Regions from separate parts of the Homo sapiens genome. Here all the other regions are linked to region 1. The links are contacts of gene promoters, found by promoter capture Hi-C in blood cells and fetal thymus (Javierre and others, 2016). All regions are on one chromosome and are shown on one strand. The core of a region is centred on a gene start or on the middle of the fragment in contact, and the rest is flanking DNA. Distances in the headings are between cores, read along the strand shown.

The links. The method cuts DNA at HindIII sites, captures the fragments that hold promoters and counts their contacts. A CHiCAGO score of 5 or more calls a contact.
Region 2: a contact is called between a fragment that was not itself captured here and the fragment with the promoter of CARMIL1 in region 1, in 2 of 17 cell types (erythroblasts and megakaryocytes). The highest score is 5.9, in erythroblasts.
Region 3: a fragment that was not itself captured here is called in contact with the fragment with the promoter of CARMIL1 in region 1 in 1 of 17 cell types (endothelial precursors); the score reaches 5.3 in endothelial precursors.
Region 4: a contact is called between a fragment that was not itself captured here and the fragment with the promoter of CARMIL1 in region 1, in 2 of 17 cell types (erythroblasts and megakaryocytes). The highest score is 7.2, in erythroblasts.
Region 5: a fragment that was not itself captured here is called in contact with the fragment with the promoter of CARMIL1 in region 1 in 1 of 17 cell types (erythroblasts); the score reaches 5.4 in erythroblasts.
Region 6: a contact is called between a fragment that was not itself captured here and the fragment with the promoter of CARMIL1 in region 1, in 14 of 17 cell types (megakaryocytes, erythroblasts, M2 macrophages and 11 more). The highest score is 15.8, in megakaryocytes.
Region 7: a contact is called between a fragment that was not itself captured here and the fragment with the promoter of CARMIL1 in region 1, in 15 of 17 cell types (M2 macrophages, megakaryocytes, M1 macrophages and 12 more). The highest score is 15.9, in M2 macrophages.

Annotation. Positions count from the first base shown.
Region 1 is chr6:25,277,823-25,280,952 of GRCh38, forward strand. It overlaps CARMIL1 (capping protein regulator and myosin 1 linker 1), which reads left to right and starts at 1,552. Exons shown (of 37, transcript NM_017640.6): 1 at 1,552-2,013. The coding sequence starts at 1,974. RefSeq lists a silencer at 1,280-1,749. The HindIII fragment of the contact is 9,381 bases long and covers 1-3,130 here.
Region 2 is chr6:25,749,305-25,752,434 of GRCh38, forward strand. It overlaps a transcript of SLC17A1 not described here. Among named protein-coding and RNA genes, the nearest start is that of SLC17A4, 3.9 kb to the right of the region's middle. The HindIII fragment of the contact is 824 bases long and covers 1,219-2,042 here.
Region 3 is chr6:25,679,226-25,682,355 of GRCh38, forward strand. SCGN (secretagogin, EF-hand calcium binding protein) reads left to right here. Exons shown (of 11, transcript NM_006998.4): 7 at 2,726-2,781. LOC124901284 (a long non-coding RNA gene) reads right to left here. Exons shown (of 2, transcript XR_007059517.1): 2 at 2,648-3,130. It also overlaps the pseudogene PRELID1P2. Among named protein-coding and RNA genes, the nearest start is that of SCGN, 29 kb to the left of the region's middle. The HindIII fragment of the contact is 1,128 bases long and covers 1,056-2,183 here.
Region 4 is chr6:25,651,473-25,654,602 of GRCh38, forward strand. It overlaps SCGN (secretagogin, EF-hand calcium binding protein), which reads left to right and starts at 743. Exons shown (of 11, transcript NM_006998.4): 1 at 743-1,013; 2 at 1,910-1,980. The coding sequence starts at 932. The HindIII fragment of the contact is 215 bases long and covers 1,598-1,812 here.
Region 5 is chr6:25,632,873-25,636,002 of GRCh38, forward strand. No RefSeq gene overlaps it. Among named protein-coding and RNA genes, the nearest start is that of SCGN, 18 kb to the right of the region's middle. RefSeq lists an enhancer at 2,767-3,130. The HindIII fragment of the contact is 983 bases long and covers 1,176-2,158 here.
Region 6 is chr6:25,577,873-25,581,002 of GRCh38, forward strand. CARMIL1 (capping protein regulator and myosin 1 linker 1) reads left to right here. Exons shown (of 37, transcript NM_017640.6): 30 at 3,052-3,118. Among named protein-coding and RNA genes, the nearest start is that of SCGN, 73 kb to the right of the region's middle. The HindIII fragment of the contact is 1,333 bases long and covers 1,002-2,334 here.
Region 7 is chr6:25,535,025-25,538,154 of GRCh38, forward strand. It overlaps CARMIL1 (capping protein regulator and myosin 1 linker 1), which reads left to right. Exons shown (of 37, transcript NM_017640.6): 25 at 2,831-2,959. Among named protein-coding and RNA genes, the nearest start is that of SCGN, 120 kb to the right of the region's middle. The HindIII fragment of the contact is 3,740 bases long and covers 1-3,130 here.

The DNA of each region.
Region 1 (3,130 bases), core at 302-2,801:
GCTTAAAGAAATTGCCCACTTTTGAAACAAATGGTTGGAGGCCTGAGGTCCAAAGCTCTAAAATCAGTTAACAAATGTTTATTGAACACCTATTTTGAACTAGGCTGTTGAAGAAGTTCAAAAGTCTAAGATAAATTCCCACTTTCAACTCACCTACAGTCTAGTTGGGCAGAAAAAATCCAAACTCAGGGGACAATGCAAGAGTTAGATAGTAAAACCAGACAAATACACAAGCAATGAAACACGACACCATATGGTTGGGTTTAGAAAAGTGTTTCAGGCAATACATATTGTAGAGGCTTAGGGATCACAGTAATCTGAAAATCCCTGGAAAATATTCACAAAGAAGGTAGACCATTGGGATGGGTTTGAAAACATAGATAAGAATCAGATAACCTTAAGAGGAAGGAGGAAGCAAACAGTGAGTCTGGTTGTAATAGAGAAGGGAGTGGGAGAGGTTAAGGAGGGTGGGAAGGGGCCAGGTTGGCAAATCCTTAGTGGTAAGGCCTGGCTGTGGGGCTGAAGATGATTCTAAGGGGTCCAAGGTCAACAGCAGTGTTTAAAATTAGATTGCCAAGTGCATGGATTCCCTTTCCTTTCCTCCTTTTCTGTCCTTTAAAAGCAGAACCTGATTAGACAGTCTGGGACATTCCCAGCCCTAGGCTAAAAAGCAGCGATTGAGGCACAAAGTATTCTTGGCCCTGAAGTTGAACCTCTGGGGATGGAGCTCAGGGAAGTCATAGGGAGTTTGGGCCCAGGTAGGATCAGACCTATCCGCAGGCTTACATAGGCTCCAGTGATTAAAGCTCAGCTTCCTGAATATGCCCCGAGGATAAAAGAGACTTTTCCGAGTGAAAGGCATTTTCCAAGGCGCTCTCAACGGGAATGTCTGAGATAGCGAACTGCGGCTGCAGAGCACCAGCTGAACGCACACACACAAGTGTCTTCTCACGGTATGATTAGTGTTCACAGGTTTCGTCTAGCTCATCAGAAATGAAGAATAGCGATGATGAAGTGACATGTCACCGGGAGGGTTGAAAAAGAAAAAGTGCGTAAGAGGGTCCCAAAAAGAACCAGCTTCCGTGTAGACGGGTCTGCAGAATCTGCCGTCTCCCGTCTTCTGGGTCCCCTGGCCCGCCCGGAGTGGGGACAAGGAAATGGAAAGCCCGGCTCACCCGGCTCTCCTCCCTCGCAGCCAGCAGATGGCTCCCGGGCTCTCTCGCGAGCCCGCTCGCCCCCTCTCCAGACGCAGGGCTTTTGCGGTTTGGGAGGGAGGCTGCGAGGAGGGGCGCGGTGCCCGCCGCCGCCACCGCAGCACCGCACAGCGTCTCTCCTGGGGGTGCGACCTACGCCGGGGACCCAGCGCTCGGGCACCGGAGGCCGGCCTCGCACCGGTGCGGAGGCCGGCTCTCGCGAGGTGAGGAGGAAACGCAGGAGGAAGAGGAGAAGGAGAAGGAGGAGAAGGAGGAGGGCCGGAGCTGCCCCCGCCCAGCCGGAGCCCGGCAGGAGCGCGAGGAAAACCTACTCCCCCCGCCCCGCGCCGCTCTCCCCGCCCTCTCCCACGCCTTCCGCTTTCACCTAGGGCTGTAGGTGCGGCGCGGAGGCTGGGCGGGAGCTACGCCGGCCCAAGCCCCGCCGGGGACCAGCGAGCCGGGAGGAGGAGCAGGCGCCACAGCCGCCCCGCGCCCCGCGCCCGCTTGTAATCCGGTCCGCTCCTTATTCAGCCGCCGGGAACTGCGAGGAGGCGTCATGTAGCAGCAGCAGCAAATCCGCCTCGCATTTGCAACTCTTTTTTTTTTTTTTGGTGGGGCGGGGGGCGCGCGGCAAAATTCTGTCTCCGCCCCCCCTTTTCTTGCCCACTTCCATTTGCAAGCTGCATCTGCCTCTCTAAAAAAATTGAGGAGTTCGGGGAAGGGCAGGGGGCCATAAATCAGAGTTGGACCTGCAATAACCCCCACACCTACAGGGCAACCATGACCGAGGAGAGCTCTGACGTTCCCAGGGAGTTGATAGGTAAGATTCACGCGGTTGTTGGTTTTCCACCTTCCTCTGCGTACTCCTCACCTCTCTCTCCCTTCCCACCTCTGCTTTCCCGCAGGTCTCGAGAAGTCTTGGCGCCCCTTAGGGCAGAGTGGTGTTGGGCAGGGTCACTGGGGGTGCCGGGAAGTTTGTTCCCATCCGACCGCCTGTAGAGCCAAGTGCAGAGAGGGAAGGCTTCGGGGAGGAATCGGGAGTCCTCGGGAGGTGGGTGGGAGGAGGGTCTCGACTGTGAGCCCTGGGCACCTCCTCTTGCCCGGAAGCGGGGATCCAGGTTGGCGAAAGAAGGGGGCGGGCCATCTTAGACTTGGGAGTTCTGCAAGCGAGGGGAGCCCTTTACAGCTCCCAGCCCACTGCCCCAAACTCGGGAAAGTCCGGGAAAGCCTATTGGAAGGACAGGTGGCGAGCGCACAGTAGGTCGTCTCCGGCACGTGTCAGGCGCTTTCCTGAAAATGCCCCGCGGGAGGTGATCTTCTGACACGCAGACTTGGGGGAGTGGGCGCTAGTCTGGTAAAATGACTGGGCTTGGCAAGGTGTGGCTTGGTGTAGCCAGCTGGGAGCGAAAGGGTTACAGGGCTGACGCAGACTCAGGCCAGGAAATAGAGGGTTAATGATAAAAGCCTTATTTTAATAATGATTAACCTACCGATTCTCCCTATAGGGGATCTCTTAGGGAACCCGTGTGTGTTACGCTGTGCAAGGTGACCCATTGTTTGAGTACCTTGAGGTTTTTTTTTTTTTGGTGGTGGTGGGGGCGGGGCTGGTTAAGTCTTGGGGTTTAACTTAATTATCTGGAGGGTTAAAATGGCAGAGCTGAAATAGGATGGGAGAGTGTTCTGAAAACCTAGCGTTTAAGCATGTATATGTGTGTAGCATGTTATACTGTAACAAGGTATGTGCGTCTGTGTACAGATGTGTTTTGAGCCCTAGTGACCTATATTCCCTCCTGTACCATTCTTGGCACACTACACAGCCTACAGCTCACAAAGATGATGTTTAATCGGCGCTGACAACAAGAGGAAGTTCTGAGCACCCGTTGATCTCCATGTGTGGAATTTGCCCCTCTGTTGTTTCTTTTAGCTAATAATACTTT
Region 2 (3,130 bases), core at 381-2,880, 470 kb after region 1:
AACCTTGATTCCATACAACACGTTTTTGTGAGCTCAAGGTTGGGGCAAAGTTACAGATTAACAGCATCTCAGGGCAAAGCAATTGTTCAGGGTACAGGTCAAAATGGAGTTTCTTATGTCTTCCTTTTCTACATAGACACAATAACAGTCTGATCTCTTTTTCTTTTCCCTACAAGGAGACAAAACCTAAAAAAATGAAGTCATTGAAAATAAAACTCAATACAAGTGAGTTTGATATCAAATTAGACACTGCTTACTTCTTGAACTGTATACAGGTAATGGCTTAAACAAATAGATTTTTATTTTTCCCAATTTATAGGCAGTTCAGATCTGGTATACCAGTTCAATAAAGCCAGAGGGACTCAAGTTTTTTTTTTTATTTTTCTACTCGACCCCATGGTAGAATATATTATTGTTCACAGATACTTGCTGCCTTCTTCATACTTCTTGGCTGCATTAATATCCATCTGGATCATGTGACTTACTTTGATCAATTCAATTTAATTAGAAATAACATGTTTCCAGCCATAAGTTTCTCCATATATTCTCTCTTTTCTGTGCCATGAGACTGGCTGTAATGTTTCAGATGGAAGCTGCCTATAAGCCTGGTCCCAACATGAAGATGATGTGGATCACAGCTGCTGCTGGCCTGTGCTAGACATGTATCTTGAAGCAGGAAATAAAATTACATTGTATGCCACTAATTAAGGCTTCATCTCTTACCACAGCCTAACTTCTCCTTTCCTAACCAACACAGAAATTAGTGCAAGGCGTAGCATAGGGTGTTGCCATAGATTAAAAACAAAATAAAACAAAGCACCGCCTTTTTTGGGGCATTGGCTTCAGGGATGGGATAGGAGCAGAAAAGAAGCTGTTATTAGAGTTTAGAAGGGCAGTAGTACTTAATTTGCATAGGTGAAACATTTAGAAAACTTTAGAAATGAATTTATAGGTAATTTCCCTATTGAGCTTATTATTTTTGGTGAAGTTCTTGGCATAGTTAATGTAAATCATGTGATTTACTATTGACTATATTTCACAAAGTATAATAAAACAAGACATAATCTGAAAAAGTAATTAGCTGGTTTGAAAATCAGAATGAAGGAAATTGAGAGAAACTAAAAACTGTAGACTTACTGAGTTGAAAGATACTATTTCTCAACTCCCAACAGTTAAAGATAAAACTGAGAAATGATTTAAGTAAGAAAGTCCTTTTAAAGCTTGGTCTTGTGCAAGTATCAAATCAAGGTGGTAACCATTCATAAAAATAATGAAGCAAAGGTTATGGCTTTTCTATTGAAGCCTGGTAGGCTCAAAGTAACCCATGTCAGAGAGAGAGAGAGAGAGAGAGAGAGAAAGGAGGGAAGGAGAAGCACTTGTATAGGAAACTGGTTATGATTTTGAGTGACATAATACCACAGAACTACCAACCTGGATAAAGGAGACTGTGACTTATCAAGGGTTATGTCACTTGTGTGTGTGGGGGGAGGGGGGTGTCGTATTTTAAAAAAATTTTTTTTGTCAGCAATGGGCCTAGTATTCTGCCCAGTCTGCAAGGACTATTCAAATATGGTCAAAGGAGATATTGGAAAAGGAAGGACTGGCCAGAGCATGGAGCCAAGACCTGTGAAAAATAATATCCTAGGGGAATTACTCATGGCATGCACAGCCACAGATTAATTAGGGATTATCACATATGCGGAGATAGGAGGAAGACTGAAATAGCTACCCACATGATCTCAGATTTCTTTGAACTACAAACTCCTGTGCAATTCTGTCTGCAATTATCTTTTCTGTGTCCTAGCATGACACATTGGGTGTGCATGGGTGTGTAGGGGAAGCAGACACCTAGTCTCGTTAGTTCATGAGTTTCTGGAGCAAGACAAGTCATATTCAACCTGACGAGATAATATCATAAAATTGTCAACATCAGCCCTGAAGCTATAATTAAATGAGACTTTGACTTGGCTTTTCATAGGAAGGGATTAAGTATATTTTGTGTGCAGAAAGGATAGTTTACTAACTAAATAATTTTGAATTGAAGCTTGGACAGTGATAGCTTATATGACTGTTCAAAAATTTTCCCTGGCCCTGCCCTGGAAAGAATTGTATTTCTCTATTTTGGTTCTATTGGGCTTGGCCATCTGACTTGCTTTGCCCAATGAAATTTGAGTGGAAGTGACACCTAGGCAAAACCTGTAAGAGCAAGCACTTGGCTCACCATAATTTCTCTTTTACTTCTGCCATGAGACCATCCATATTCCAAATAAAGCCTGATTTGTCAAACTGGGCCCCTAAGTGAGGAAAACATGGTGAGAAGCTGTAGCCAAGACACGATGGTCATGAATTGTGAACAGCACATAAAACTTTGTTATTATAAGCAACTGAGATTTTTGGGTCATTTGTTATCCCAGTGTAACTTAGCTTATCCTGACTGATAGAGCCATCATCAGTTTATTGGCTTTCATCTTGCTGTTGTCTAATGAGCCTCAGGTACTTGCCATACCTCAAGACCTGATATCCACTGTTACGGCAGAAGGAAAAAGAAAAAAGAAAAAAAAAGATGAGACACAGGCCTACTTCTTTTTATGCATCAATGGCCAGAAATGTGTAGGCCCCATTTGTTTCAAGGAAGCCACAGAAATGAAGTTTTTGTTCCTATATGCCTTATAGTAGATACAAGCTAGGGCACAGAAATTTGGAAATGTGGTTTTGCTTAGCCAATTAATAATGCTGGCCACAGAAACTCATCTACTGCTTCTTCTCCCCACAGAGCATGTGCTGTATATTTGCTATAATACAAACACGCGACGCTTAACCATAGGAATACATTCTGAGAAATGTGCTGTGCGGCAGTTTTGTTGTGTGGATACCATAGAGTGCAGTTACACAAACCTAGATGGTAGAGCTTGCTATACACCTAGGTTATGTGGTCTAGCCCATTGCTCCTAGGCTACAAACCTGTACCACATGTTACTATACTGAATATTGCAGGCAATTAAAACAGTGATATCTGAGAATCTGAACATATCTAAACATAGAAAAGGTACAGTAAAAAGATAAAAAATGGTATGTCTAGGAGACTTATCATAAATGGAGCTTGTGAGACTGGAAGTTACTCTGGGTGAGG
Region 3 (3,130 bases), core at 370-2,869, 400 kb after region 1:
CAGCCCAGCAGGACATCCCACTGGTCTTGGTCAGGAGTCACTGGGACAGGAGCTTCTGGGCAGGGGTCACCTCCTCATATTCTGTGTTTTTGGTCAGAGCATGTTTGCTATAGGGATTTGAGTACCAATGTCACAAGGCAGTGAACATTTGGTTTCAGAAATTCTGGAGCCTGTTCTGGCCTAGGAATACTTCATCATCATTCCAGCCAGGGTAAATGAGCACCCTTGCAGCTTCAGGGCACGGAGCCCCGTGGGCAGGTGTGTGTGTGTGCAGGGGATTGAAGGGGAGCTGGGTTGTGGGCTGAGGGCTGGCAGGGGCACTTGCTCATGGAGCTCAGGCTGTGACCAACCTGCCACCACTGCCTGGAGCAGTTGTCAGGACTAGGCTTATATCTCTTGGTTTATAGTCAAGGGTAGGGAAAATAGATAGAAATGAACTATATAAGCATGAATCCAGTGAAGTGAAAACTGGCAGTCTTAGAGTTGACTCAACTATCATGAAGTTTATATTTCTTTAGGGGAAATTCAGGCCACTGAATTGGAGGGAAATCCACGTAGAGTCTTTTCTTGCTTTCCCAGGGAAAAAGAGGCAATTAGAAAAGGTAAATATCACATCTCTGGCATAGTCTATGGCACCAGATGTTTTACTTCATAACCAAACATGAAGCAAACCAAATTCATGATGAGATATCCAGACTTTATAGAGCTAAGAGCCTGGTTTTATGGAAAGAGCTCTGGTGACAGATATACTTAGATTAAAATCTTGCTTCTTAAACAACCTACTTCAATCTTTCTAAATATCAGTTTCCTTATTTATTACAAACGCAGATTTTTTTTACATTATAAGGATGTTGTGATAATTAAATGTAATAACATAAAAACTATTGAGCCCTCATAAATGGTCTTTATTATAGTTTAAAAATTAAGAAGCCATTATGTCTCAAACAAATATGCCAAGCATTCAAAATTCACTAAAGGTTATACTTGCAAAGAAGCATAATGTCTTAATGTCACACAAGATCTGATTTCTAGTCTGGTGCTACAGGCATGCTGCAAGCTTCCCTCATTATTAATATTTGAACTTAGAGCTACAGAGGCCCCAGGAAAGTAGAAGAGCAGACACAGCCGAATATGTGTGCCATTCATCCCTGCTGGTATACACTCAGAGATGGAAAAATTAGGCAAATGATTTTTTTCCTGATTCTTATTCTTACGTGAGCCATAGCCAATTTTCTGATAGGTAGAAGCATAATTTACCACACTGGTGTTTAGTTCAACCCAGGCCAATTTCGAGCACAGGATTGTTTTCTCTTGGAGTAAGTTTGCACAGCAATGGAGTTAGGCCCACGTCTTTCAAGGTGAGTTGTTACTTGCTTAGAGCTCAAGCTGACCTAGCTTTCTATTAAGATAGAACCTCTCATAATGAAGGTGTCACAGAAAATAACTCATGGCTCATCTTCTGGCAAAGTTTATCCCCATCAGACTTTTTACTGGATACTGTATAGTGTTTATGTTTAAGGGACGTAATTGGACATGTAACATGTCCAAATGTATAAAAATGTAACCTGTGTTTTAATTCTGTAATACACATTTTTGGTGCCAAAGTGGTGAGAATAGGTTTTCAAATTCATTTGAAATATTAAAAATAAACTGGATTTGGAGACAGAGGAAGGATGGGGGACTAATGCATTTTTTAAAGCAAAAATCTGTTGGATGTATTTTCAGATTATCTCGCTCCCTCTTTTTCCCTGTGCAGCCTCCTTATATGGATATGCTTAGAGATATTCTGTAGCATTAAAATGTTGTAAAGTCACAAAATTCACTCACATTTCAACTCAGATCTGCAAAGAAATCTCTCTCTTCTATTTTGCCCAAACCAATCTGGTCTTTCTAATTTGTGGTTAGTGCAGAAACTTTTAACTTTTAGTCCTATCTTGTTTAAAGTTTAGTCTCATCTAATAATGTAAACAACTTCTTTGGACAATGCTAAGTCTCTCTATGAAAGGAAAGACTCAGTGTCAACACCTTTTGCCTTCACGGAAACATGAGGTTTCTCCTATACCCTATGAGAGTACCCTATGATATGAGCCCTCCAAGCCCTCCTTGGTGGTTGATATGCTAAATGAGGGCTAGAATAAAATAGTTTCAGAAAACCTTGACTCAAACCAAGTACCCATATTTCAAGCTTGTAATCTTTATAAAAATCCTGTTTTGCCTGTCAGAGACTGTGGTAGTCGTTGCTGCTATCCTCCAAATAATTAGTTTTCCTCTTAAGCACATGGCAGGATTGTATTATTCTGTCCCTTTGAAGGTAGCTGTGGCCAGGGATCTGCTTTGGACAATAAAATTTTAATCAGTAAATTATTTATTATTCTTTCTTTCTGCCATGGCAATCAGGAATGTGCCAGATGGTCACTACTTTGTCACTCCATGTCGCCAGAGTATAGACAACATGAAGTAGAGCTGCCAGCTAACCCTGTGAAAAATAAACCTGTGTTGTGTTAAGCCACTGAGATTTAGGAGATTTGGTTACTACGACTCATCCTAACAGAGAGGCTGACATGCAATTCCTTCTGTGACAAATACTAATTTTCCCCCAGGCAAGTGGGCTCCTCAGCCAATTTAGGCAAATATGTAATCAGAAGAGCAAAATAGAAAAGTGCTTTAATAACGTTCAGAATTAGTTCCTGTTACAAGTACAACCATTTTCCCTTCTGCATTTCAGATGAAGATTTTTGACAGAAATAAAGATGGTCGGTTGGATCTAAATGACTTAGCAAGGTGAGTTACATGGAAATGATATCATACATTCAGAAATACCTTACTAGGGGTCTGATGACATCATATATTTCCTTTTGAGACTGGAGATCAAGCCTCACCTGGAGTCTAAAAGAATAGGCACATCTTACCAATAAGCTGAGTGATTCTAAATCTTTTAGGGTAACAGATCCCTTTGTGAAGATAATGAAAATTCTTCTCTCCAAAACGCACAACACACAACATTTTCACAAATGTTATGGATGGGTCATGGGAAGACCCTACCCTTAAAGGCAAGACATTTATAGTCCCACATTGTGACTTCATGACAAAAATGTCCCAAATCCCATTTACTGGCTCTGGGAACGTCGAG
Region 4 (3,130 bases), core at 455-2,954, 370 kb after region 1:
AAGGTATCAGTGTAGTTTGTACACGTTTCCACAAAGCCTTGCCCAATTTTGAACAGTCCTGATTGTTAGAAAGCTCTGTGTTCCTCCAACTGATTTTTATCCTTTGGTCTTAATGTGGCTCTTAGGAGCCAAACACAATCATCTAAGCCTTCTACCTAAGTACCCTGCAGGCAGACACATCTCCCCCAGACTCTCTTTTCCTGGCAGAGTACGGCTTAGTTTATATTTTCCTCAGCATCCTAATGATGCTACTTTAAATCACAGTGACTTGCAGTATCCCTGTTTAGTTGCAAGTCCTTATAGTGCATTTTGGTACAGCAATGTGTATGTCCTATACAATCAGGACTCAATAATTGCTGTTGACTTCTTCCTTAAAGGGAACCACTTACCACCATCACCATCCCTTCTCGCCTCCCCTCTCCACACACTACATTTCTAAATCCTCAAGTCCAAAGGACCCTAACACTGACACTTCTTGCAACCCTTTAAATGAGGCAGCTCTCCCTAGAAAACCCCTTGAGACACAAGTTTGGAAAGTGAGTCAAACGTAAGAGGGATGTCTTCTCCGAGTCTGAGAAGCAAGTTAAAGGGCAAAAGCAGTGAGCCGTGGACGCCTGGAGACAGTTTCTTTCTTCCTGAATTCCCCAAAGCGCAGAGACAGACAGGATCTGCCAGGACAGCGCGCAGGGCGGGGCGGGGACAGGCGCGCCAGGAGCGGGGCGGGCTTCCAGCCGCTGGTTTTGCTGAGGGCTGAGGGACGGCTCAGCGACGCCACGGCCAGCAGCGCTCGCGTCCTCCCCAGCAACAGTTACTCAAAGCTAATCAGATAGCGAAAGAAGCAGGAGAGCAAGTCAAGAAATACGGTGAAGGAGTCCTTCCCAAAGTTGTCTAGGTCCTTCCGCGCCGGTGCCTGGTCTTCGTCGTCAACACCATGGACAGCTCCCGGGAACCGACTCTGGGGCGCTTGGACGCCGCTGGCTTCTGGCAGGTCTGGCAGCGCTTTGATGCGGATGGTGAGTAGAACAAGCCACTTGCACACTCAGGTGTAGACGTGGCTCCAAGCTCAGCCCGCTGAAAGGACCTGGAGTTTCCCCTTTACTGTAGGAAAAGTTATCGACCTGGGTTGTTAATGCAGTGTACCTAATACAGTATCATTAACAGACGTTTGGCATACTGGTGATACACATCTATATACCTTGTTAAAATTCTGGGTGGTGAATTTCCACTTTCCCCTTTCCAATCTCTCTTTGTGTGCGAGCGCGCCATATATATGGTAGACATACATATATATTGTATATACAATGACTAATATCATTGTATATGTTCAAGGCTTGTGGGCTGAGACTCAGCTATTTGAAGTCATCCTTCCCTAAATGGGCTCACTTTTACGCAGTGACTTTGCTGTACACCCCTCACTCTCTCAAAATGAGAATAAATTTTATCAGCTTTCAAAACGACTCCTCCACCAAAAAACTACTTGAAAATAAAATGGAACTACTTAATATTTGTTTTTATTAATAAAGAAATAAAATATCTAAAAGGTGTGTTTTAACTCTGCAAACTGGGATTCAATACTTACACCTGTTAAGTTTCTCCAAGCTTCAGAAATTTTGGGGTTAAATTTTATTGGAAAGTTCACGTTTATTCATTGATTAAAATTCATGTACTTAATAGCCTTCCTTTTCCAAGCACTAATATAAACCCTAGCATAAAGCACGTATTCTGGAACAGTGTTTACTGTTCAAACCCATGTATTCTAGAGGTAGGTGTTGGCACTTTGTTATTGGAATAACAAAAAATAGTGTTGAGGGAAGCTTTATGAATTGTGAGATTAAAAACATATTTAGATAAATACTGTCATGTGTTTTTTATATGTTAGTATTATTTATGTTTATTTTCTCACATTTAGAAAAAGGTTACATAGAAGAGAAGGAACTCGATGCTTTCTTTCTCCACATGTTGATGAAACTGGGTACTGATGTAAGTACTTGCACACTAAGCCTTAATTTATGCCTCTTAGTAAGATACGCACATCCAAGTCTTATATTGATTGGTACCTATTAATTCCAACTCACCTCCTTTCTTCCTTGCATGTATGTAATTTCTCCCCCTCTCCTAGCAACATAGAGGGATTTAGGCAGTTTTTATAAAAGGTGCAACTGTAGCATTAGACATGCTGGTTACTGACTTTCAGTGTAACATCTGTCATCCACTCAGAGATCCTAACTGTAGACTCAGTTAACTTGGTCTTGAACGTCTCCTTGGTTATGTCTCTGCTAATTGATTTATACCTGGGGGTAAAGTAGCCCACTTTGTTCAAAAAGCTGGAAAAGATGTTAAGCACATTAAGATTTTGGGTGTTTAATATGTATGATACTCCTCTGATAGCAAACCACAAACCATTTAAAATCATTTATCCATTATTCATTTTATTAGAAGAGGTTACAGATTTTTCAGGGAATGACAAACCAGAAAACAACCAGCATACTCAGAGCCCAGATACAAATGGAAGCCAATCTATCTAGTGTCCATCTGATGGTAAATATGTCCTTGGGAGATGTAAATGAACTCTTGAAAGTCTCTCTATCAAAGCAGAGAAAAATTTTACACAGAAACACATGAGCGGAGGACAGCCTGGGGATGGGCTCGATCTGATGAAAGCTCCAGTAGGGCATTCATAGTAGAAGGAGACGCTCTAGGGACAATTGAATTTAAATGAATGATGGAGATAGTTTGTCCTTATCATTCAGCTGTTTATCTGAAGAATAGAAGTGCATCACATTCTCATGTGAGAGCTCAGTGAGGGAACAAGGAGCTCTTCACCACTGTTGAGAACATGGGGAGGGTATGTGGGGGGCAGGGGAAGCTGGTTCAGAAACAAAAGGGCTGGCTTCCGCCTTCTTCAGCCACACAGATCTCTTGGTCCCCCTCTACTTCTGTCTGCCTCTCATATTCTGTCTGTCTCTCTTTTTTATGTCTATCTCTGTCATTTTTCTGCTCACTTCTGTTTCTTATCTCTGTGTTTCATGGCTCTCATCTCCTACTGTTTCTTGCCTTTCTCTCTGACCTCTCTGTTGCCCATCTTTCTTGTCTCTGTTTCTCATTTGTTTCTCCATCTCTCTGTCTCTGT
Region 5 (3,130 bases), core at 417-2,916, 360 kb after region 1:
AAAAAAAAAAAAAATCCTGCTTTCCTTAGATTTCACCCTCAGTCCCTCCATCCCCCAGCTCTAGGCAACCACTAATCTACTTTCCATCTCTATGGATCTGCCTATTCTGGATATTTCATATAAATTGAACCACATGGTATATTGTTCTTTGTGACTGGTTTCATTCACTCAACATAATGTTTTCAAGAGTCTTCTATGTTGTAGCATGTATCAATATTTCATTCATTTTTTATTGCTGAATAATATTCCACTGTATGAATAGACTATATGTATCCATCATCCAGTTGATAATGTTTGGGCGTTTCCACTTTTTAGCTATTATGAGTAATGCCACTATAAACATTTGTGTACAAGTTTTTATGTAGATATTATTGCTTTTTTAAGAAAAGCAAGTACTAGGCCAGGTGCAGTGGCTCATGCCTGTAATCCCAGTACTTTGGGAGACCGAGGTGGGAGGATCGCTTGAGCTCAGAAGTTTGAGACCAGCCTGGACAACATGGCAAAATCCCATTTCCACAAAAAATAAAAATTAGCCAGGCATGGTGGTATGCACCTGTAGCCCCAGCTACTTGGGAGGCTGAGGTGGGAGGATTTCTTGAGCCCAGGAAGTTGAGGCTACAGTGAGCCATGATCCTGCCACTACACTCCGGTCTGGGCAACAGAGTGAGACCCTGTCTCAAAAAACAAAAACAAAACAAACGAACAAACAAAACCCAAGTACTATACATAAGATTAGTTTTCAGGCCCGGTGTGATGGCTTATGCCTGTAATCCAAGCACTTTGGGAGGCCAAGGAAGGCGGATCATGAGGTCAGGAGGTTGAGACCAGCCTGGCCAACATAGTGAAACCCTGTATCTACTAAAAAAACAAAAACTAGCTGGGTGTGGTGGCACGCACCTGTAGTCCCAGCTACTTGGGAGGCTGAGGCTGAAAAATCGCTTGAACCTGGGAGACAGAGGTTGCAGTGAGCCGAGATCACGCCACTGCAGTCCAGCCTGGGTGACAGAGCGAGACTCCATCTCAAAAAAAAAAAAAAAAAGAAAAAAAAAGAAAAGAAACTAGTTTTCAATGATTTTTTTTCAGGGTAGTAAAGAAGACGTTACAAGATATTTATTATAAAAAGGGGCCTTGGGTCTGATGGGACTGAAAACTGCTACTTTAGCAAAAAGAAAACAAGCTTTGACTTCAGAAAGACCCAAGACTGAGCTCTAACTCTGCTACATACTGACAGGAATTTTGAGGAAGTTACTTAAATGCTCTGAGTCCCAGTTGGCTCATCTCTAAAAACAGGAAAATTAATATCTACATCGCAAGACCATTTGGAGGATTCACAAGATAATGTGGGGAACATCTAGCACACTGTAGGTACTCAGCAAATGTGGTTCTGTTTCTCCAGCCACTTGACTTTGCATCTTCTCAACATGCAAGGGAGCATAGTCACTTCAATTGCTGGCCAGTGCAGCTCTTCCAGGTAAAAGACCTCTGCTAACTTCTTCCCATTGTGTAGAGAGAAGATTTTAATCTTCTCTAAAATTCATCTATATCCTCTCAGCTTCCAAAGACCTCCTCTGATCATCCTTTGTGAGATACCTGATTTGGTGACAGCATCATGATTCCCATATCCCTTCCTGTGATACAAACCAGGCTCTGTCCACCCAGAAGATGATGAGTAGGTTTTCGCTATATATTTAGGAGTGGAAGTCCTTCCTTCTCAGACTATACTTGTTTTTCCCTTCTCTGACTCTACACAGGTCCTGCTGTGTCTTTCTTAACCTGCAGCAATGTACAAAAAAGAACATTTTGATGTGCCAATATGTAAATGTGCTACTTTTGATTACCAACGAAGTAACACACCAAGCACATTCTGAACCTCAGCTCCTTCCATTCCCCATCCTGTACAGATGACATAGGATGCAAGGGTCAGAGCTGTGGCAAACATACTCCTTGTACTCAATACCTGGATATGTTATTAAAGTGGAACATATAAAATGTTTTATAGGTTACATCTAAGTGTGTGATGCATGAAAAAACTCTATTCTTGCACCAGACTCCATTCTCGCACCAGAGTCTCCATTCTTGCACCAGAGACTCCATTCTTTGACCTATGCAGCCAGCTGAAGGTCCCTGTAGTTCTGTTGACCATCTGCAAACATGGAAAAGCTTGGGTTTAGGCCACAACTATAGGGATCTGAGTGTTCTGAATTGGGACTGCTTAGATTTTTTTTTTTTATATATATAAAGCTTAATGTAGACCCAGCATGCCCCAGCATTTAGGACATTTTTCTCACCCACACTCATACTGAAGCCTGGAAATGAGCCATGCACACTCCCTCTGCTCCCATTCAGACAACAAAATTGAGCCACTCTGCTGGAAAAGCCCATCTTTCTTCCCAGCCCATAGGTTAAAGGGGCAACTCTAAACCTTCTCCCCTAAATGACTGGCATGAACATCTGACCCACAGGGGATCAGTCAGGTTCTTTCTCCAAATAATTTGGAAAAGTTTAAGAAGAGCTAGTTCAGGGGCTGGCAAACTATTGCCTATAGGCAAAATCTGGCAATGCTTGCTAGTTTAATAATGTCTGCGACTGTCAATAGTTGCAGGAGATATTTTATGGATCTCGGTAGCATAAAATATTGACTATCTGACTCTTTACAGACAAAGCTTTCCAACCCCAGAGCAAGAAGTTTACAGAGACTTGGAGGCTGAGACCACCATTTGGAGGCAGGAGGGCCGTGTGCACTCAGAATAGAAGAAACTGTGCTCAGAGACATGGAAGTGAGAGAGAGAGCATGAAGCAGCGAGTGCCAGGAGAAGCAGAAAAGAACCAGGCAGTTCAAAGAAAGGGCAGAAAGGGCCAGACAACCTTCCAGTGTCTGTGAGACACATCAACCTTGCTTGTGCTCTGCATCTGTGACTGTCCCATGTATACAATAAACCGTTTTTACCTAAACTAGTTTAAACGTGTTCCTGTTTTTTTCAACAAATGATTCCTGAAAAAATCAGCCATAGGGGCCATTATGTGGCTGCAATAAGCCTGAACCAATTAAGATCTTTGAGTCCACTGCTGATTCCCTTGATAAGTCCCAGAGGGAGTTAAGCTTAGAGAACAATGGTAGGCAATAAAAGGT
Region 6 (3,130 bases), core at 418-2,917, 300 kb after region 1:
TGGGGACTTATTGATGATTTGTGATGTTAGGACAAGAAAGAAGTCTGTGTTTAAGATTTTCCTGCTAAAATTACATTTAAAATAAGGGTTTAACACCTTTTTCCTCATACTTTTTTGGGATATGGGTTTTGAAAATTATACGTTATTGCTTGCAAGATGCATTTTTTAAGATAAGTTAATTTTGTCTAGGCCTCAAGTTGACAGTGTTAACCATTGATTGATGAGAGGTCCATTTGCAGTATGTACCTCTTCTTTTTCAAACGCTGACCCCCCTTCATCTGATGGACACTTTGTGATTTCTCTGACTCAGAAAGTACTTAGGCATTAACAAATGTCAGGGAAAGGTCAATAAGGACTAAGAAACAGTTTGAAAAAATTGACCCTTTCATTTTGGTACAAAAAGAGAAGAGAGCTAACAGTGTTAAAGAAGATGGTAAAGTCAGATTGTTTTCTTTTTCTGGGATGTATTTCATCAACCCAACAGTTGGGGAGGGGAGGAGGAAGGAGCGCAAATAAACCAAATTTCTAGACAAACATTAAATATTTGCTCCTAAATATACACTTAGGTGGATAATTATAGTACATTGTTATATTTCCTCTTGCTTTAGGTTTATATGTAATGGCATTGTAGGAATAAGCCAATAAGATTAAGGAAGTCCACATTTTCTGTAAAACTAAGGAAGAATTACTTCCAAAGAAAAGTAATAAAAATATGGGAGAAATGAGATTGAGTTTTTTTTTCTCTGTTGTTGCACTTAAATCCCATGAAGGAAAGATACAGAAGCTGGGTTGCCTTCTTAATACCAATTGTAGAAACTAGCCTGATTACAAATTCTATTTTAGCAAAAGACCATTGGCTCTGTGCCAAAACTTCAGAACTACAAGATATGATAGGTATAGATTTATGGGAAATGTAATTAGAAGTTACTTACCCTTGTAAAAAGCACACAAAATAAAGGAAAGCAAGTAAAATACATTAGAGTGAGTTTTTCTGATATTCAAGCTTTCTATACTGGGCTTTGAAGCATTGGAAAACAAGACCAAGAGGAGAAAACTAGCTCCCCTTTGAGTGATATCAACCATCAAATTATCCTGATGATTTCGTGTGTTTCTTAATTATGTCTATGAAATTAAACTAAGCTGAATGACCTATTCACAGATGGACATGAGTTTGCAAATGTGATTCTTTCTGTACATATTATATATTGTCATTTATTTTATATATAGTACATATTTTTATATGTTTAAAATTATAATATATTTGAAATATAATTTTTATATATTTTACATTTATTTGGTATCATAAAGACTTTCATGATATGGAAACTTAAACCAGACTATTTTTGCCTATGAATACACTTCCTGTAAAATATAATCAAGAGTCAGGAAAAAAAAAAAAAGACATCTTCAGTCCATGCATTTTTAAACATCTTTCCTCTTTATTTGTGACAATCTAAATGAAATTGGCTAAAAATTATATCTGAAGCTACTTCTTGATTATTTTACCTACCATGATTGTGCACAAGATGGATAGAATACTGAAGAACTTGTTGCGACCAAACACAGCATATATTTTGATAGCTTGTATCTCCTGAGAATTACTTTCAGAGATTTCACTTGTGAATAGACCAGGCAGGCCACTAACTTCTTCAGCCAACTGCATGGCTAACTTTGGGGAGAACTGCCTTAAACTGGATTCCTTTCCATTTGCATTGAGTTAGCTGAGTTTTTATTGAACCTGCAAAACCTGTTACTTTATAAATAGCTTTTCCTCAGTTTGTCTGCCTTTAACAAAACCTTGAAAAAAGCCAAATCGGCAAGTTTCATTTTGTATTTTAGGAAAACCAGTCTGGATTTCAATACAATTGCTAATCATTTTTTTATCTCCCTTTTCTCTCAACAATAAATAATAGCAAAATGATATTATTAAAACTGGCATAATTGTCAAAACTATAGATTTGTTTGCTTTAAAGATCAGTATCAGCCAGTTTCTCCTTGGAGCTAAAGAATGTTTTTCAATCATGTAGATTGTTTTTTTGAGGAAGCATTAGATGAAAACCTATTAAATGAAAGTATGCAAACTAAGTTCTTTCAGTTATGTTACCTCTTAGTTTATACACGTACCAGTTTCCTGATATCAAACCAGTGAAAACATCCCTAACATCCATCCATCTCTATATGGGTCATGAATGATGTGGCAGGAAGGATGCTGGCCTGACCCTCCTCACTGGGTTCTGTCCATGGCTCTGCTCCTTCTGACACCATGAATGTTAGCCTTTGTCATCTCTGTAACTCAGTTTCATCCTTGGAGTTTATTTGTGTAGGTGATGACAAAGCTTCCCTCCGTCTTTGACATTTGTGTGATCCTATTGAGGGAGAAGATAGTGCCTTTCTGAGGGTTGGCTTTGCACCATAAACAGTTGACACCAATGCTAGGAAAGTGCTCTTCAGTTTTGGCCCTTGGTTTGAGTTTCGGTTTCATTTTTTAGAAGATTAACAGGATCAAAGACATTTCACTGAGAAGTGCCAGCAGATACAGATTTTTGAATCCTAGCACCTTTTCCTGGTCTTTGCCCATGAAGTAAAGATCAAAATCTTGGGGGCAAAATGTGAAACGAGAGTGCAACTACTTAAGTCATTGATGTGACACAGAAAGAGGTCAGGGTTGCTTACATTGATGTTACTGTGACAATGATCACTTAATAGTGTTTTCAGTTTTTCGTGACTGATTTTAACAGTCTTTGATTTTTATTTATGTATCCATTTTAACATCCTCTTACACAGCTTGGAATTAAATTCATTCATTGCTCTTTTCAGCTATATAAGTGGAATTCAACTGGTTAGGGATGAAACAAAGAGGTTAGCTGTATCATTTGAGAAATTGTAAACATTTAGAAATAGTTTGGTCTCTTCAGTTAGGTTTTCAATCATCTTCTAAAGCAGAGAAACAACTACTGAGTTAAACAGTCGATCCAGAATGTTTCAGAAGTTTGAAAGGCAAGTTTTCTGTGGCTACCTAAGTGTTTTTTTAAATTATTATTTCATTTCTAGATGACCCCTAAATCCAAAAGGAAGAGTATCCATAGCCGAATGCTGCGGCCTGTTTCTAGGGCTTTTGGTAAGTGTTTTG
Region 7 (3,130 bases), core at 183-2,682, 260 kb after region 1:
TAGGTAGTCACCAGCAAGTGTGATATGAGTTAGTGGTGTGATGTAGTTGCCAAAGAAGTCAATTTGACTTGTACCGTATTAATGAAGGTATACTTTCTACAGTAAGGAAGACGATAGCTCTGTTCATCTCAGCTCTGTGCTTTCCAGTCCACTCTTAGTTACAATCCATTTCACTAAGGAGACTTCATGAGGTTCTAGGTGGAAGACAGAATGCAGAAGTGACCTACAGGAAAGGAGGTCAAGGACTGGAGAACTGTGTCAGCGTAGGCATGGGAAAAGGAGCTGGGAATGTTAAACCTGAAGAAAAGAAGGCTAAGGAAGAAAAATAAGTGTATTTAAATATGTGCAGGACTGTCACTAGAAGAGAGCATATGATTGTGCAGAGTGTTCTCAAGGGGAAGATATGGGACCTGCAGGAAGGGTGTAAGAAGACAGATTAAGACTCAAAACCTTATCTAGGAATGACAGGGTACATTTTCTTGGAAGGAATTGAGCTTCATAAACTATGGCCGTCAACAACTTTTCTGTATTGCTTTAGAGAAACTGAACACTATAGGGTTAGGGTGAAGTAGAGAGGTTAAACTAAACAGCCCTAACACAACCATCTTCTATGAGGTCTTCTAACGGGGTAACCCAAGAGATTATAGCCTTTCAGATTGCATCTCCTTTATTTTTCGTATTTATGTACTTGAGAGACGAATTATGAACTGATAAACCCCTTGATTTACTTTTTTCAAAATTTTCAATCTGTACTCTGTGTAATCATTGCATGTCATCTTAAATAGTTTACCTTTTCTGAGCTTTGAGCTCTTTCATGGTAAAGGATCTAAATGTGGTCTGCTGAGCTATGCTCAGAGGAATCTTGGAGACATGAGATTTTATGTCTTCTTTGAATTGAAGAACTTAATTTTGATTGTTCTTTTGCATGACATTTTAAATGTTCTACTTAAAGACCATTTTTGTTGAGTTCATGTAAATCCTCTCCCCTTGGTGAATGCTTAAGGGCATACATTTCAAGTGTCTCTTTGTTCTCTCGTGGTGATTAAAGATACCAACTTTATAGTGCCTCATCCACATGCCTCTCAAATTAGCCTTTTGCAGCCCCAAATGTATATCAGTTTCTTTCTTAGTGTGTGGTTTGTCTCTTGAAATTAGGCATTCATTCTTGGTAAGATATGAATTATTAATGACCCTTTTTGCTTCAGGAGGCACAGATCAATACAATAGTTAGAAGAGTTATGATTTCTATCAATTAAGATTTTAAAAAACTTATAGTTAGCTCTATGCAGGGCATTGTGTAAATGCAGAAAGATATGATTCCTGCCTACAATCAGAGGCAGGAATCATAACTTTCTTGTCTTAGATTTTTAGGGATTTTAGGCAGAGAATTTGATGTGAGAAGCAATATTCATACAACTTCTTTTTCCTAGGGGGATCTCAAGATAATAACGTATGTAACCTCAATATATTTTACAGCAATAGGAGCTGTTTTTATTATACATAAACTTTGGCATTACTGGCCCTTTTTCAACAATAGGTGCTTGAGTGCTGTTATTTTATTGAATTGTCTTCATAACACACTAATAAAGAATGTGCGGTAGATATTATGAACCTGACTTTACAAAGAAAAAGGCAAGAGAGATGGCAGTGCTACAGCAAGTAGACATGGGCTCTGTAATCAGACCTGAAGTCTTCGGAATAGTGTGTAAAGTCTCTATCATTTTGAAATTTATGGGGGAAGAAGGGCAGACTTTAGCTTCCTATCGTTATGATATCAAATAATTCAAAATAGAGAAGTGTGAATTTAACTAAAAAAGAATATTGTTTGTCTCCTCTGCCAAATGAATTATCAGATGGAAGAGGACTCTTGACATGTAAGGCCTTTGAAGAATGAATACTTTTTTTAAGAACATGAAATAAATAGACAACCGGCAGCTCTAACGAAAATATTGGAGACACTTTTAAAACCACACTGTGGTTATCTTTTTCTTCAGACTTCTTGGCTTCCTTCATGCTTTTTTGTATAAGTACAAATATAGAAGAGCATAATCTTAACCTTTCTGAAATATTTTTTGTCTACCATAGAGATCCACCATCTCCCATTGGGTTTTGTGTTTATATCCGTAAAACAATTGAGAATGATTTAGGTGCAATTAAACTGGTAGGGGAGGCATCTTATTGTAATAGAAACTAGATGATATTGACTTCATTACTACCTATGTTAATATAATAAAACCTCAATTTGTTTTTGTTTTTTGGTGGCTCTTAATTTACAAAGAAAAATACTTGATGTAATTGAATCGATTTTTAAAATACCAATTTTTAAGAGATGTTCTGGTTTCTATAGTATTGAGACCAACTGGCTGTTGGGCATCATTTTGTAGTCATTACAACAGTCTCAGTGTTGCACATTTTATTTCTCTGTTTCCTCAGTACCTAACTCTATGTCTAACACATAGAGGGTGCTCACTAAAAGTTAATGAAGGAGTTAGTATCTAGCAAAATGTCACTGAGTGAGGTTCTGAATCATCAAGAAGTGTTCACTTTTGTTCTACGTGCTGCATTTCCTAAGGCAGGAAAGGGAACTGAAATGCCTTCAATTTTTTTCTGGCATTAAAGTTGCCAAAGGTTACTTGCATGAATAAAGTAAATTAATAATTGCTTACAAGCAGCATTCTCAGTGACTCCAGTTAGAAGGGTTTGAGGTTTTCATCCTTGTGCATTCTGTGGTTTGCTGAAGTTTTTTTCATACTCCTTCGTTCTGTGTTTCCTTCTATCTGAATATCGGCTGGGCTGACTTGGATGCTTGCCTTTTTCTGGTTTGGAGCAGATGATTGACAGAATATGTGTGAAAGTACAAGATCATCTCAACTCCTTACGAAATTGTGGGGGAGACGCTATCCAGGAAGATTTAAAATCAGCAGAGCGGCTCATGCGTGATGCTAAGAACTCTAAAACGGTGAGTTTCACTTCAGGCTGTGTGAGAGTCTGGTATAATAAAAACGTTTCATAAAATTTAGTTTTAGAAACCAGTTTCAACTTTCTCTCTCTACCCAATTCCAAGTTTACTAACAAGTGGCAAAGTGAACTGAATTAGCCTTGACCTCCTTTCTGTACCTGTGCTGATTAC